5 separate regions of the Homo sapiens genome follow, and all the other regions are linked to region 3. Evidence: promoter capture Hi-C in 16 types of primary human blood cells and fetal thymus (Javierre and others, 2016). All regions are on one chromosome and are shown on one strand. Each heading gives the region's core, a stretch centred on a gene start or on the middle of the fragment in contact. The rest is flanking DNA. Distances are from core to core; before and after follow the strand shown.

Evidence for each region. The method cuts DNA at HindIII sites, captures the fragments that hold promoters and counts their contacts. A CHiCAGO score of 5 or more calls a contact.
Region 1: a fragment that was not itself captured here is called in contact with the fragment with the promoter of CCDC112 in region 3 in 17 of 17 cell types (M0 macrophages, M1 macrophages, M2 macrophages and 14 more); the score reaches 23.0 in M0 macrophages.
Region 2: a contact is called between a fragment that was not itself captured here and the fragment with the promoter of CCDC112 in region 3, in 12 of 17 cell types (monocytes, activated CD4 T cells, naive CD4 T cells and 9 more). The highest score is 10.9, in monocytes.
Region 4: a fragment that was not itself captured here is called in contact with the fragment with the promoter of CCDC112 in region 3 in 17 of 17 cell types (total CD4 T cells, M2 macrophages, naive CD8 T cells and 14 more); the score reaches 12.2 in total CD4 T cells.
Region 5: a contact is called between a fragment that was not itself captured here and the fragment with the promoter of CCDC112 in region 3, in 2 of 17 cell types (neutrophils and fetal thymus). The highest score is 6.8, in neutrophils.

Annotation. Positions count from the first base shown.
Region 1 is chr5:115,597,386-115,600,937 of GRCh38, forward strand. The region is part of intron 3 of TMED7-TICAM2 (TMED7-TICAM2 readthrough); the gene reads right to left. The region is part of intron 1 of TICAM2 (TIR domain containing adaptor molecule 2); the gene reads right to left. Among named protein-coding and RNA genes, the nearest start is that of TICAM2-AS1, 3.0 kb to the right of the region's middle. The HindIII fragment of the contact is 958 bases long and covers 1,205-2,162 here.
Region 2 is chr5:115,616,899-115,620,123 of GRCh38, forward strand. The region is part of intron 2 of TMED7-TICAM2 (TMED7-TICAM2 readthrough); the gene reads right to left. All of the region lies in intron 2 of TMED7 (transmembrane p24 trafficking protein 7), which reads right to left. It overlaps TICAM2-AS1 (TICAM2 antisense RNA 1), which reads left to right. Exons shown (of 3, transcript NR_109875.1): 3 at 3,170-3,225. Among named protein-coding and RNA genes, the nearest start is that of TMED7, 7.5 kb to the right of the region's middle. The HindIII fragment of the contact is 4,837 bases long and covers 1-3,225 here.
Region 3 is chr5:115,295,332-115,298,424 of GRCh38, forward strand. It overlaps CCDC112 (coiled-coil domain containing 112), which reads right to left and starts at 1,323. Exons shown (of 10, transcript NM_001040440.3): 1 at 1,096-1,323. The coding sequence starts at 1,212. It overlaps LOC105379129 (a long non-coding RNA gene), which reads left to right and starts at 1,597. Exons shown (of 5, transcript XR_948684.3): 1 at 1,597-2,017. RefSeq lists a silencer at 972-1,421. The HindIII fragment of the contact is 8,729 bases long and covers 1-3,093 here.
Region 4 is chr5:115,554,881-115,558,022 of GRCh38, forward strand. No RefSeq gene overlaps it. Among named protein-coding and RNA genes, the nearest start is that of FEM1C, 12 kb to the left of the region's middle. The HindIII fragment of the contact is 6,980 bases long and covers 1-3,142 here.
Region 5 is chr5:115,656,952-115,660,284 of GRCh38, forward strand. All of the region lies in intron 3 of LOC102467217 (a long non-coding RNA gene), which reads right to left. Among named protein-coding and RNA genes, the nearest start is that of TMED7-TICAM2, 33 kb to the left of the region's middle. The HindIII fragment of the contact is 746 bases long and covers 935-1,680 here.

The sequences.
Region 1 (3,552 bases), core at 434-2,933, 300 kb after region 3:
AAGCTAGTCAAAATTCCATTGGAGGTAAAAATAAAAATATCCAAAAACTGGGGAATGATAATATTAACTATGTCACATTATTCATATGATCGAATCCTATTAAACCATTAAAAATGTTTATGAATGTTATGAACAATTTTAATGACATGAGAAAAACGCTTCTCATGACACGAAAATGAAATGTAATTAAAGAAAAGGAACTGACTGTAAAATAGTATACAGAATATGATCTCAGCTTTGTTAAACAAAATGCAGAGAAAATAGATTAGAAAGAAGTACTGTCGTCTCTTGGTATACTTAAGGGTAGGGAAGACTGATTCCAGGGGTTCCAGGACCCCTGCATATACCAAAATCCAAGAATACTCAAGTCCCACAGTCAGCCTGCAGAGCCTGCGTATACAAAAAGTCAGCCCTCCGTATGTGTGGGTTTTGCATCCTGGAATACCGCATTTTTGATCCATGTTTTGTTGGAGAAAATCCACATATGAGGGGACCCACATAATACAAACCCATGTTGTTCATGGGCCAAGTGAATACCAAAAAGGTAACATTGATCCTCTGTGAATGGTATATGCATAAGAATATATAAATGTGTATATATATGTATTCCTTCATATATATGTGAAGAACTCACGTGTTCTTCACATGTACACATATATACACATACATGTTCACCTTTTGAACAATGATCACACAGTCTGAAAAAATAGTTTTTTAGTAAATAAAAATTCATTTTCTAGGCTTTATATTTTTATAAATATCAATTAGGTCAATAATTGTCAACAATTATGTCAATTATGTTGATTTGATTTCCATCTAAATAGTATCTTCCTTATATATATCTTTTCCAACACCTTTGGTAAGTGTCTTCCTTACATGCTCTATCTCTACGTTCCAAATGAGTTTAGCCTATCTCCAGGTTTAGCTCTATTTCATCTGTTTTTTATTTATATGCAAATATTCCAAGAGCATGGGTTTGCTAACTCTAAACCAAACAGGGCTTCTCCAACACTCTTCTTAAGTACCAAAGGACAGAACATTCATCTTCATCGTACCTAAAACAGGTCCTTGAGCAAGTAAATGTTTAAAAAAATGCTTCTATCCGATCTTCACCTGGGCACTGCTTTTTCATCTTGTGGACCCTATCTCTTCACTCAGTTGCTAGGAAGCTCCACGTTAATGAGTGCTCTGGCCAACAGACAGAAGCTTATGGCAAGTGTTTTGATACTATTAATAACTTCACTCCTAGTTTCTGCTTAACCCCCCTACTCTTCTCTCTGTTCGATATTCCAAATCTACTTATTATTTAATTTAATTTAATCTTATATTGGAAATATTTATTAAAGTATCTTAAATCCTAATTCTGAAATAAGAAGGAATTTTCTTCTTTTCTTTTACAAGAAGGGGTGATAGTACATACGCTACTGATAACAGAACCAGTTCCTTGAGATTAAAATGAGAAATAAGGATTATAAATTAAACAATCTTTTAGTTGCTACACCTCTTCATAAAGATGAAAATATTGTTTTTCATTTCTACATAGTCCTCAAAAGAGAACTGGAGCCAGATGCAGTGGTATGTGCCTCTAGGCCCAGCTATTTGGGAGGTTGAGGTGGGAAAATTGCTTGAGCCTGTGAGTTTAAGACCAGCCTGGGCAACATAGCAAGACCTTGTCTCAAAAAAAAAAAAAAAAAAGTTCAATTTATATAATATCTTATAAAATCTTCACAACTCTGACATTGGCTTAGTCACTGCAGAACTTAGAAACTTGTATATTATTCTCTGAACAAGTGTCTTTATTTTTCTTCTTCCCATAAACTACCTGCTGCTGGTACCATTCAAAGAGTCTCCAAATGTTAGATTATTGCTTCCTATTTCCTATTGCCCCTATTGGTGGGGGGAGGGGGGCAAAGTAACTGCCCCCCACCAAATATTATTACATATTCTTTTTAGTGAACTGGATATTTTTCTTCCATTTTCTGTATCTAAAAATGAAAACTGATGGTAAAGGGCAAATCTCCAAATCAGGAAGAGATTTTATAAAAACATAGAACTTAAAGGCAAACTGTCCATCTTATCAAAATTAGGCTCAAAAGAAAAATGGTTGTGCATTTTTAATATTAGGGAACTCAAGCAACCAACAATGTTTTAAAGGTTCCATAAGCTTCATGGAATACTAGAGAGTAGCATTCAGTATTTAATAGCAACCTACCGCACAGGCCCAGCAGCAAAAGAGATCTTGCTGCAATAGCACAGTAACCCCTGAGGCAGCATGCTAACAGAGAAGTGAGGGAGTACAGTGTGCAATGGTCTAGCAGACACCAGCTGCAGGCAAAGGCAACAGCAGCACAATCAGTGTTACTACAGTGGAGTGGATGAGAGGGAAGTCAGGAGATGAGTTCAGAGAACTAGTCAGGGACTAGATCACACAGGGCTTTAAAGCCATTGTAAGCCTGTTTTTCTTTTCTTTTTTTTTTCTTTCTTTTTTTTTGTGATTCTGATAAGAAGCCACCAGAAGGTTTTGAAGGGAAATGAAAGTTCTGAGTATGTATGACAAAAATCACTGCTATTTGGAAAAGACTGTAGAGGAGCAAGGGCAGAGGCAGAGACTTCTCAATCATGTAGGTAGGAGAGGACTGTGGCTTAGCTTAGAGAGGGAGAGAGAGGTGGGCAGATCTGGGTAGAGTCAACAGATTTTGTTGGATGCTTGGATGCGGAGTCTGACCTAAAAAGAGAAGTCAAGAGTAAATTCCTAGAATTCCGGCCTACTTGAATGGCAGTAACTGAGGCTGTTTATTGAGATAAGGGAGGGAGCTGAGGGGAAACAGAGGGAGAACTTGGTGAATCTGGCATCAGTAGTTCTATCTGTCCATACTAAATTTAAATGCCTATCAGACTTCCAAGTGGAGATGCTGAGTAAACAGCTGGACATACACATACATCTGGAGCTCAGAAGCGAACTAAAGCTAGGAATAAAATTTTGGAAGTCATCAGCTGATAGATATTATTTATAGCCAAGGAATATGGCTTGGGATACAAATTGTCCTGGGGGAAAGTATGGCTAGAAAAATATGGCCAAGAAATGAACTCTGTGGCATACTAAGATTTAGTGGTGGGGAAGCCTGGAGACACAATGAAGCAGAATGAAATGCAGAATATGGTGACCTGGAAGCCAAGTGAAGAAGAAAGAATATTAGTGAAGAACATTAGTGAAGAAAAAAGAATATTGAGGAGGGAGTGATCAAATGTTACTGAGGGGTCAGGAAAGATGAGAACTGTGCACAGACACTGGATTTCACAAGACAGTCATTGGCAACATCAGGACCATGCAGGGGGTAATGGGGACAAAAAGCCTCAGATGAGAGGGGGTAGGAAGAAACAGGGAAAATGAAAATGGAGACTTAGATTAAATCTTTCAAAGAGGATTTTTGTTTGTTATAAAAAGAAGCAAAGTAGGGGAGCGGGACCTAGAATGGGATGTGTGGTCTAGGGGGGATTAAAGACAGAAGATTTAACAGCAGATATTTGTTAAATGAATACATTTTAAGAATA
Region 2 (3,225 bases), core at 523-3,022, 320 kb after region 3:
TAGTCAAAGTTCTTTGAACTATGTTTAAAACAGCCACAACATCAAAATCGTTAGTAACTTTTAAATCTGAAAGGGATCTATCAGAATAGGAATGACTTTGTTTTTTTACATTTATCTATTTGTTAAATCAGCCTTTTCCCTCATGCCAGTCAACTAAACCAATATGTATGTTCCCAACAGGATGCAAGTTTCAGTTTCACTGTGTAATCAATTTGTGAGCCTTTAGCTGATAACAGCTTGCCTTTTTATACATTTATTATACCATCTGTTTTGAGAAAGGTTAAATGACTAGTTTTTTTGTATACCATGGTTTAATATTTTTCTACTGCTGCAAACTTAATCCTAGTGGTAAAATATATGTTTTATTATTATTTTATGCAACAAGCCTGTATTAAGAGTTTTAAAAACAAATCTAAGTTTGTTTTAATTTTAGTTAAGGAATATAGAAATTAGAAAATAATGTTTAATGAAGTTCTGCCAAAGTAAGTATGAAAGGAATAATTATTAAAATATTCTATTAAAAGTGCTTTTAAAAAATGTAAGAAATTATGAGGCCAACAAACTGCATTAACCTATTAGAAGAGTCAAATATTTTTGTTGTCCTTGCTTTGTTCAGGCCCCTAGGAATGAAAAATTTGCAAAACTGTGCTAAAATGATTCCTAATTTGTGATGAGGAGCTAGAGAGAGATGTGCTTCTAGGATTTGCTTTCTCTATATTCTCAAAATGGCATATTGCCCAAGGATTCTTCACCTGGAAAGTACACATAAAGGCAAGGAGTTGACCCAAATGCAGAATATTTAGGAACTCCTTCAAGCCTGTCCATGGGGTATGGGTTAAGAACTACTGGATTAGAGAAAATCACAGAAATTAAATTACATGCATTCTACAACTTTTGAGATGTGACTTTTTTTGAGATGGAGTCTCGCTCTGTCACCCAGGCTGGAGTGCAATGGCGCAATCTTGGCTCACTGCAACTTCCACCTCCTAGGTTCAAGTGATTCTCCTGCCTCAGCCTCCTGAGTAGCTGGGATTACAGGTGCACTCCACCACATCCAGCTAATTTTTGTATTTTTAGTAGAAACAGGGTTTTACCATGTTGGTCAGGCTGGTCTCTAACTACTGACCTCATGATCCGCCCGCCTCGGCCTCCCAAAGTGCTGGGATTACAGGCGTAAGCCACCACGCCTGGCCTGAGATGTGATTTTTAAAAAACTTTTACAGTGAAAACTTCCATATATATTCAAAAGTATTGAGAAAAGTACAATGAACCCCCACCATGTCAACAAAGATTAACACATGGCTAATCTTGCTTCATCTACATTCCCCGATTATTTTTAAAGCAAATCTCAGATATTTTATCACTTCAGCTACAAATACTTTTATACTTTATTTCTAAAAGATAACACTTTTTAAAAACATAACCCCAATAGTATTATAACACATGAAATAATCTAAAACAGTTCCTTAAAGTCAGGAAATAGTGTTCAAATTTCCCCTATTGTTTCAAAGTTGGTTTTCAAGTAAGAATCCAAGTAAGGTTAACACAATCATTTGGCTGATGTAAGTGTTCATTAATCTTTAGGCTTTCTTCCTTGTTTTTCCTTTTTTCCTTGCCATCAACCCCTATCCTGTGGCATTTCCCACGTCCTGGATTTTGTTGATTGCATTCCCATGTTATTCCTTTATCCTCTGTATTTCTTGTAAACTGGCATTTGGAGCTAGAGACTTGATGGAATTCAGGTGCAATGTTCTGGGTGGGAACGTCTAGTAGTCAATGTTGTGTACTTCTTACTGCATATTATGATAAGGCACATAATGTCTAGTTATCTCTCCATTTGTGAATGATCATTCAGTCTGATCCACTCAGTATAAAGTTCCCCATCAGCCTTTTACTTAATGGTTTTAGTAGTGACTGCTGATCATTGCCTACTCTAAATCCATCATTTTATCAACAGGTAAAAAATGGTGAGAGTAAAACTTTTATCATTTATTCTGCATTACTAGCTGGTAATTTTGTTCTGAACTTACTAGCTGGTAATTTTGTTCTGAACTTACTAGCTGGTAATTTTCAATTTTAAAGTATGAAAAGTTGCTTTATAATGATCCCTATTATATGATACATTATCTTTTTGAAAGTAGAAAAATAAGACTGAGAAAAATAAAAAATGTAGCATGGATAAAGACGGGTATGATACTAACTGCTTTATTACCATTCATTTCTTATATTTACCCACTTAGGTTTTTAGAACAAGCCACCTTATACAAGTTAAAATTCATGAAGGAATGGATACAGGTTAAGGTAATGGCCCCAAAGAAATATCATTTTACAAAGCAAGGTGTCCTTCACACAAGACCTTAAAATAAAGAGAACATTTCTAAAATTAAGAGTATTTGAATATATCTTGCTAATTCTAACAACAGGTTTATGAATTAAGGCTTTTACACATTCTTAAAGCTGTTTCTTTCACCATGACTTTGGCCAAGAGACTAAATAGAACCTGGGAACACTAAAATACCAGTTTAAGATGTTAACGAATAAGTGGTAAATAATTCTTTTTCATGCCTAATTGAGTAACTTTTAGATACGATCTAAGCCCATACAGGTTGAGTATCCCTTATCCAAAATGTTTGGGACCAGAAGTGCTTTGAATTTCAGATTTTTTCTGATTTTGGAATGTCTACATATACATAATGAGATATCTTTGTGATGGAACCCAGGTCTAGACATGAAATTCATTTATGTTTCATATATGCCTTATACATGCAGCCTTAAGGCAACTGTATATGATATTTTCAATGATGTGTCATGAGATCAGATGTAACAATCTTCCACTTGTGTCATCAGGTTGGAGCTAAAAAAAAGTTTTGGATTTTGAAGCATTTTGGATTTTGCTGTATTTGAACTAGAAATAAAACAGTCCTCATCACCTAAGCAATAGTTGTTCACTGGGTTTAAATTTTTTACGCTTTCTCTATGTCTCCAAAATAAATCTGAATTTAGCTTTTGTAACTATTTTTGTGAGATGACTTACCATTAATCTTCAATATTTCACCTAAAGTTACAGCACAAGTTACTGTTACAGCAGCTTGAGTAACACTAAGTAATGGTATAAAGGCTATGATATGGTATTATTTATCTACTAATTTAGGCATCATTTTGCTTCCAGTTACACCAGCCTCCTGAGTATGACAGCAACATTCCTTCAGGGATTAAAGAAAATGC
Region 3 (3,093 bases), core at 73-2,572:
TCACACATTTTTTTGAGCATAGTACTTAAAAATACTTTACGTATTATGTATATTTATATATTTTACATTTTTTCCTGAGATACTTGGGACAGAGTTAGAATAATAAAGAGAATTATAGAGGATGTGTGAGAAAATTTGCCGTAGGTGGAATTTCCTGAAGGTCTACGAGTAAAGACACTGTATTTCCTTAAAGGAGGAAAAAGATGGAACCTCTCCTCAGCTCATGACAGCCTTCCTTCAGGTTTATATTGATCCACAAATTATTTAGTAAGTGCATACTACGTTCCAGGCACTACACAACAGGCATAGTTCTTGGTGCTGGGAATACAATAAAGAATAAAATTTCCAATACTTTCTGCCCTCATGGAGCTTACATTCTCATGGGGGTGCGAGGGAGGGTGAGGGGTGTGAGGAGAAACATAAACAATAGAAATAAAGTATGTAATATAATATATGGTACTAAGTGCTATGGGGAAAAATAAAACCAGAAACAGGGACTGGGTGTGCCGCGTAAGGCGATTCATTTTAGGGAGATCATGGAAAGTCTCGCTGAGCTGATAACATCTGAACAAAGATACCTTGTCCTCACCACCTAGAAAGCGGTCCTAAGCCGATCACTGGAAACACCTCTGCCTCCGACCATCCCATATTGTCTTTCTCCTTGTGTTCCCAGCGCCGGTACAGTAACAGAGCTGCCACCAATTACTGAGCACAGAGTCCCCCTCCAATCAAGCACTGTGCCAGGGGCTCCCCAGACATAACGTTAGTCCAAAGCTCGGGAGGTGCATGTTACTATTCCCAATTTTTAGAGAAGAAAGTGAGTCGCCGACAGCATATGTTCTTATCACGCGGCTAGGAAGCGGCAGAGCCGGGTTCCCACCCAGGTCTTCCTCGACTCCGAAACCACATGGAGGCGGCTCTGCAAAAGCTGTTAAACGCACAAGCCAACAAAGAGCAACGCCCAGCGCGTGCCAGGCCCCGAGCAGGGGAGGCGAACGCCGCGCCTCCCGCCGGCGCTGCAGAGGGCACCTGTTCAGCCAGGGCCTGCAGCCCCTCGCCTGCCGCCAGAGCAGCTCTCGGTTCTCCCGGATTTACCTGTTGAGGCGCTGGCGTCGCTCCCACGCCGGTCCCGGTGGCCGCGCCCGCCCCTGCCACAGCCCCGGCTACCGCGGTGGCCGCAGCCGCTACCACAACCGTCGTCAGTGCGGCCATGTTTACCCGCCGAGCTACTCGGGCCGCGGCGGCCACCGGTGCCTGGGGATTCGTGGCAGGCGCACCCTGGCCTCTGCAGACAGCTCCCTGCGCTGCGGGCTTGGCCGGGATGCAGGGCGGGGCCGAGATGTAGGGCGGGGTCGGGATGCAGGGCGGGGCTGAGATGCGGGGGTGCAGGGGTGCGGGGGTGCGGGAGGGGCGGGACTGGGGTGCAGGGCGGGGCCGAAATGCGAGGCGGGGGCCGGGATTCAGGCGGGGAGGGGCGGGGCGAGGGAGGGGCAAGGTGCCGGGCGGAGCCGGGATGCAGGGGAGGGGCGGGTCTGGGGTTCTGGGGCGGGCGGGTGTGGGGGCGGGGCGGGGCGGGGCGGGGGCTGCGCTCTGCCCTGTCGCGGGTTTATATACCCTTTGGGCACTTAACCGACTGTGCCAGCCCAGTCCCATACCTGTCAAGAAAATTCATTGTCTTACATCGTCCTTAAATTTTATTCGTGTTATAGTCAATATATACATATTTTTACCTAATATACATCCGCTTTCTAGGTTTCTACTTAGCGCTGCTGAGACTGAGTCTAAATGAAAAAACATTATCAATGGATTCTAACAATAAATCATATTTTAGATTTTTAAAGAAAAAAACCCAGCTTGCTCCACAGAACCAGATATCAGAGGCAGGAATGCCACAGTTACATTCCTAGGACTTGGTCAATGAGAAGACAGATTCCAAAAATACAGTGCTGGGAAGTTGGAAAAAAGCCACAGATGACGCTTCCAGTCAAGACAACCTGTGGCAACTGAGCTGATTTCTGTAGGTACTACCTTTTCCCCCTTTATAGAAATCGATTCATTCAGTCAGTCAATATGGAGCTCCTAGCATATGTCAGGCACTGTTCTAGGCCTTGGGAATTCATTGTTGAATTAGACACATAGGTAAGGTTCCTTCACCTTTAACAAGTAAACAAATAGGTATTTATTGAGCAATTCCTTTATGCCAGGGCTGTTATAAGTGCTTTATATGCACTTTTGCATTTAATCTTCACAAATAACTTCATGAAGTAGGTACTATTATCATCTCCATTTCAGTGATAAAGTTAAGGATCACATGGCCACACAGGTAGAGGGTAGGATACCTATCTAGACAGCCTGACTCCAGAGACCATCCTGGTAGAGGTATTAAACAGGCAGCGGGATAAACGCCTCTGGAGCCCAGGAGAGAGAGAGCTAAAGATACGAATTTGATCTTCCTATAGAAAATATTTGAAATAAGACTGAATGAGCTCACCCAGGGTGAGTATAAATTGAAGTCTGAGAACTAAGCCTAGGCCACTCCGAGAAGGTGACCACGGACAAGAGGAGAAGGGGACCAATATGGAGAGATCTGTGAGAAGGGAGGAAAACCGGAAGTCTGTGGAGGGAAGTTTTTGCAGAAGAGGCCGGACGTGGTGGCTTACGCCTGTAATCCCAGCACTTTGGGAGGCCGAGGTGGGCGGATCACGAGGTCAGGAGATGGAGACCATCCTGGCCAACATGGTGAAACCCCATCTCTACTAAAAATACAAAAATTAGCTGGGCGTGGTGGCGCCTGTCTGTAGTCCCAGCTACTCGGGAGGCTGAGGCAGGAGAATTGCTTGAACCAGGGAGTCGGAGGTTGCAGTGAGCCAAGATCGTGTCATTGCACTCCAGCCTGGTGACAGAGTGAGACTTCGTCTCAACAAAAAAAAAAAAAAAAAAAAAAAAAAAAAAAAAAAAAAAAAAAAAAAGAGAAGAAGAAGAGGGGAGAAGAAGAAGAAGGAAGAAGAATGGAGGAGAAGAAGAAGGCAAAGAAGAAGAAGGAGAAGGAGAAGAGAGAAGAAGGAGAAGGGAGAAGGGAGAAGGAGGAGGAGA
Region 4 (3,142 bases), core at 439-2,938, 260 kb after region 3:
CTCACACTCAACCTTGTACCTATCATCAGCAGGACACTGACAGTGATGATAATGATGCTAAACAACCACCAATATTGACATTATTTTTAAGAACCCATTGTTTTCCAGGTCCTATACCTTATTTTACATTCCTAGCTACTGTAAGAAATATGTATTTTTAAACTGTTTGTAGAGGAAAACTGCTAGGATATACATGCAAGGTTTCTGTTGGCCCGTTTCAAAGAAAAATGTGTACACGTGGACTCAGGGTGGGGGTGGGCCCTGCCAATTTCCCAGCCTCTGTAGCTCCCTTGTTATAACTGGATGCCACATATTGCCCTGCCTACTTCCTCCACTCCCCATAGCTGCCATTGTGCCCTTTACTTCCTCTCTTAGGATCCTTGTGATGCTTTATCTATTTCCTTTATACAACTGGAAGGCCCAGGAGGGCAGGGGCCATGTTTGGATGTTCAATTCTGAGTCACCATAATTCAGCAGAGTGTGTGGCACACAGGTTGTCCTCAGTGAATATTTGCATAGTGAAAATGAATGAGTGGATGTGGAGACTCAGTCCACCTCTGTTCAGGCACAAGCTGGACTTTGAATAGGAAGATTCAGCCTTTCCCCTAGTTTCCAGGCCAAACTAGATACAGGGAGACAGGTTCAAATGTCTTTAGCGCACTCATCAGGCCAGCACCTCTAGAACAGCAGGACCCCCAACCTCGAGGAAGGAATGTATGAGCTGAGATCTGAATGTGGAATACCTTGTGCAAAGACCTAAAGAAGAAAGGGGCATGGCAATTCAGAGCTAGCAATGACAGCTCTTGTGCTGACCATGGGTTTCCAAATTGTTTCTTAGTTTCCTTTGTTGCTAATTAGTATTATAGTTTGCTGCTAATAATAGCAGTGAGCATTTATTTAGTGTTTCTGTGTGAAAGAGGCTGTGCAAAAAAGGTTTAGCATTGCTACGTTAATTTTTATAACAGACATTGTAAGTACTTCTATACAGATGGAGAAACCAAGGGTTAGAGAAGTTGAGTAACTTAAACAAATTCACATGGCTAGTAAATGGCAGGGTGGAATTTGTCTGACTTTAGACAGTCTGGGCCAGAATGTAGGTACTACGTTGCCTCCCCAGTATATTTCCTCAGTAATGGGTCTACTGTCTCCAATTTGCCATTCTCCATACCCCCTCAGTCCCTAGGTCCTGGGGCTGAGCTGCTGTGTATAGTTGTCTCCCTGAAGGACTCCCATCTATTTGGGACCTGGCCTGCAGCTTATAGCTTGCAGGACCACATCCCCATCACTGGAGAAACACCAGCAAGAATGGGCCCCACCACCTTGGTCTTGTTTTCTATCCTGAGCAGTTTCCTCTAACTTGCTTCCAACCTGCTTTCTTCTCCCATTCCTGACTGCTGGACACCTAATCCCTAGATTCACTGCCCATTTGTAGACTTATTTGCCCTTCAGATCTGATATGTGACCAGATTCCACTGGATCATTTGTGGATGGCTCATGTTGATTATGGTTTGCACTTACCCCTTTTGTTTTGCTGTTTCCAGTTTCTTTGAGTAAACACTTCATCTGGGAAATCCCATCCTCTGAACCCTGCCCGCTATGATAGGCTCCATGAGGATGTCCATGCCAAAATCAACATAACTGAAGGAGAGATGGAACCATGGCATGGTCTGAACCCCTAGATCCCGCCATGTCAGAGGTCAAATATCCCCTGGCCAGTGCCACTGTGTTGCTTGCCTCCAGAATCACTGAACAGTGCTCCCTGGAGTTAGGCAACATGCTAACCCTGTCCTAGCCTCTCGGATATATGAACAAACACATCCGTCTTCCAACGCTTTTTGTTTTTTGTTTAGGCCAATTTGAGTTGGATTTCATTCATTGCTATCAAAAGATTTCTGACAAATAGTAAACAAACATAACATATACAAAGTGAGGTCAGCACTAGGAAGAAGAAACACATATGCTTTTAAGGGTGTGCAACAGAAGCCATGACCTATTCTAAGGGGTCAACATGGGCTGCTTTGAGAAAGTGTTACTTGATGTGAAAGCCAGAGGAGGAGCAGTTAATTAGGAAGTGAGTAGAGCAAGGAGGAGGAGTCCAGGTAGAAGTAAACACTGTTTCCTAAGGACATGTCTTGAAGTGAGAAAAAACTCAGTGCACTGTGAAAGCAAATAGAAAGCCAACACGTGTGGAGTATTGTGAATAAGAGGGAGATGTGGACCCCCCAAGCTAGAGGCAGGTAGGAACCAGACCATGCAGTCCACAGAACTCTGTAATCATGGAGTATCCAGACTAGTGATGAATGCAAAGTGTTTTTCACTTGGCAGAGAAATAACTTGGTGGTGAATGTAGGAGTGGTGGTGCCAGGTGACAGAGTTTTTCAGATGGTCCCATTAACCCTTCCAGACTGAGGCATTAGCCTCCTAACAGGCCTTCCTACAACTGCTCTTGCCTCCTTAACCAAATTTCCCCCAGCTACTCAGAGAGAAAGGCACATATGTCATGAGGCTCCTTTAGATTCAGCAGCTTCTCCCTGCTCTTAGGGAAAAGTTTACAAATATTCATGTGGTTTCCAAAGCCCGCCAGGCTCTGGCCTGCACCTGCCCCACATCCTTGATTCGTACCTCTCTCCTCCCTGACAACTCCTCGCTGCCTTATTGGTATTGCTTTCTGCCTGCATGTCAGACTCTTGCTGGTTCCTCGGCTTCAGGCCCCACACACACTCTTTTCCTGGCCGATGCCTACCTTGCCACGCTACCACTAGGCCTCCACTTAAATGCCCCTCATACTTGCCCTAACCCTAAGGACTAAGTTGGGTCCTAGTTTATTCTCATAGTCCTCAGTCTCCTCACTGTTTTCATGCCTCATTCACTATCTGTGAATCTGTGAGCTCTGTGGGTCCTTTCCTGTCTCTCAGGGCCAGGCAGTAGTAATGCCAGGAACCTAGCAATAACTGTCACATTTCTTTTGTTATTCTGTGCGCTCTGGGAGGTGGGGGTGGGGGAGCGGTGAGAGGAAGTTAAAGGAAGAAAGGTTTACAACAGTTTGTATGTACTGTTCATGGAGACTGATTTTTTGTTTTGTTTTGTTTTGTTTTGTTTTTATTGTCAGGAAGTATGTGCATGAACAAAGAATTTTGAGAAT
Region 5 (3,333 bases), core at 58-2,557, 360 kb after region 3:
GCATCTACATTTGGACATCTTTAAGGAACCACAAATTTTAACATTATTAAGATCCAATTCATATTTTGCTTGATATTTTATGATTGCCCTTCTAGATCCACTCTTCATTCCTTTCCATCCTTATGTGTGTCCTGAGAGGGTATCCTGTGGGTATATTCTACCTCAACAGACTCTCTTGTTGTATAAATTTCCTTTGCATTTGGATTTGGGTTTGAAGATTCCTGGTAGAAAATCTGAGGGAGGGCAAAAAGTAAGGTAGAGGTATTTGTTCCCTTAGCTACCTCCATCCAGGGTTGCCTAGGCCTGGGAGCAGAACCTCTTGCCCAAATATCTTATCTCCTATCATGTGACTTCCTAAACTAGGTTCCCATAATTGCTCCTTCTCTTTGCCTTTTGGAAATTCTACTATTTACAGTCCCAGAGTATTGCACTATTTCTCATGGTTTGTCCTACTCTGATTGCACTTTTATAAATAGTCCCTTCAAATTACCCAATTTGACTGCACCATCTTTTTCCCACTGGGAACTTAATTGGCACAGTAATTGATACTGTGACTGGTCCCAGAAAACAAAGTAAAATCCTTAAAATCCTGGACTGGATTGTGCAATATTTGAAGAGTACAGGGGGAATGGGGTATGGACAATCCTTGACATATAGTAGTATCACAGTTACTCAAACTGTCACTGGTGATGACACAGGAGGTCAAGGTTTTGGGAAATCAAGTAGCGGTAAAACTTGATTGCTACGAGTTCTACAGATCTTAGGAACTATAGTGTCATCTGGGTTGTTCTAAAGGCCCTAGGGAGAATAAGTAGGGACAAAGAGAAATGAAATTGCCAGATGAGAATTTATGTGGAAAATCAGAGAGCCCTGAATGCAACTTTAAAAGCACATCTTATTTCCAATAACTGCAGGAGGAGGTAGTTGAGAACTAAGCTTAGGATCTGATTATAAGGGTTGCAGCATTAATTAAATGCTCAAGTTCATGAGGCTTATTATATTAAAATATAGACACTTAGGGGGAATGAATGCAACCCTGTCCCCTGAGTCATGGAATGATTCATACTACTGCAAAGAAAGTATGACAATGCGTTCACACCACTGGAATTCACTAGTCTTGCCCATCTCCAAAAAGGAGCTGGATCACCAGAAGAGCAGAATAGCCTGCTGACCTCACAATTTTGGCACCAGCTAAAAGAAAGCACCTTCAAGGTTAGGGGGCTATCCTGCAAGATACGGCAAATGCCTTAAATGAGCAACATCTCTCTATATCTTTCTCTACAGGTAGAATGAATGGGTCTGGAGACCAAGCAAACATGTGACATTTGCAAAAATGTATAGTGTACAAGGCTACAAAACAAGGCTTAATAAATTCCTAAGAATGGATGCTATACAGCTTGTTCTCCGAAAAGAGTGCAGCAAAATTAGAAACCAACGTTAAAAGGAGATTAGAAACCCTCATATGTTTTGAAATTTTAAAAAACACTACAAAAACATTCATGGGTACAATATGGCAAGAGAAAAAATAAAAGGTATAGCGTTTGGAATGGAAGTAATAAAATCGTCATTATTTGCAGATGACATGAATTGGAAAAGAAAATGAATCTTGATACTTTTGTCATGCAATATAAAAAATCAGTATAAAATGGATCACAAACAAATGTAAAGGTAAAAGAGTGAAGCTTTTAAAAAATACATAAGAGAATCTTCATGGCCTTGAGGAGGGTAAACCTTTCTTAAACAGGACACTAAAAGCACTGCCAATGAGAGAAAAAAAAAGATTTCATTGAAGTACAAACTTTTGTTAATAAAAAGAGATTATTTAGAGAGTGAAAAGACAAACTACCAACTGAGAGAAGAAATTCACAATACATATATCTGTTAAAAGACATATGCAGAATATGCAAAGAACTCTTACAACTCAATTATAAAAAGACAATAATGCAATTTAGAAATCAGAAAAAGGTTTGAATTAACATTTCATAAAAGAAGATATGCAAATGACCAATTAGCATATAAAAAGGAGTTCAGAATTATAGTCAGCAGGTAAATGAAACATGAATGACATTAAGGTACTACGCTTCACACCAAAATAAGTAAAATTTAGAAAAAAACTGACAATACCAAATATGATGGAACGTGGAATGACCAACTCTCACACATATACTGGTGGGAGTGTAAGTTGGTAAAAACCACTATGAAAAACAATTTGGAAATATCTAATAAAGCTAAATATATGTCTATTCTATAATTCAAAAATTCTACTGCTAGCTATATTCCCAACAGAAATGAGTAAAAATGTCCAGCAAAAGACATTTATAAGAACTTTCATACTAGTTTTACTCATAATAGCCCCACACTGGAAGCAATACAAATATGACTTGAGAGTAGAATGGACAAATAAGTATATTCATTGTCAGTAATGGAGAGGGGGAAAAAACCTGTTGCTTTAATATGAATAAATCTCACAGACATAATGATGAGTGAAAGAAATCAGTCACAAAATGGGACACATGGTTCCTTCTAGATGATATTAAGAAGAGGTAAGACTAATCCATGGTATTAGTCAATAGCGGTTATCTCTTGGGGGGTATTTTGGGGAAAGAGGTATAGAAAAGTTCTTTGGGTTGCTGGAAATGTTTTATATCTTGATCTGGGCAGTAGCTACACAAGTGTAGACATATGTAAAATTCACTGAGTTATTCACTTAATTATGCACTTTATATATAATAAGCCTTCATAACAATGTTTCTTAAGTCACAATAAAATTTTAATGAGAATTATAAAATATTTAGAACTGGATGACATAGAAAGCACTGCATGTCAAAACTTGTGGGATACAGCTAATGCAGTACTTAGAAGGCAATTTATAGCCTTAATTGCATATATTACAAAACAAGAAAGATGAAAAATTAATGAGCTATTCAACTAAAAAATTGCTAGAAGAAGGACCATAGAGAAACTCCAAACAAAATAGAAGAAAGAATATATGTTGAAAGTAGAAATTAATACAATATAAAACAAAAATAGTAGTACAGAAGATGACAAACACAGAAAGAGAGAACGATAAATAGAAACTATGAACAAATGAAGAGCAGAAATGAGTTAGTAGCTACAAAAACAGAAGAAACAGAAGCACCATAATGGTTGGATACTACAGGAGGAAGCATGCCAGACTCTAAGACTCCAAGATGTGGCAAATTTTTAGAGTGGCTATTTTGCTCCAGAGTTGCAGTCAGACTGCTGGAGCTACAGTTGTGTAGGAATTATGCTGCATTTCTCCATGAAAATGGTTGAGACTATTTCTCATCTACTTTATTTCCACACAAATGA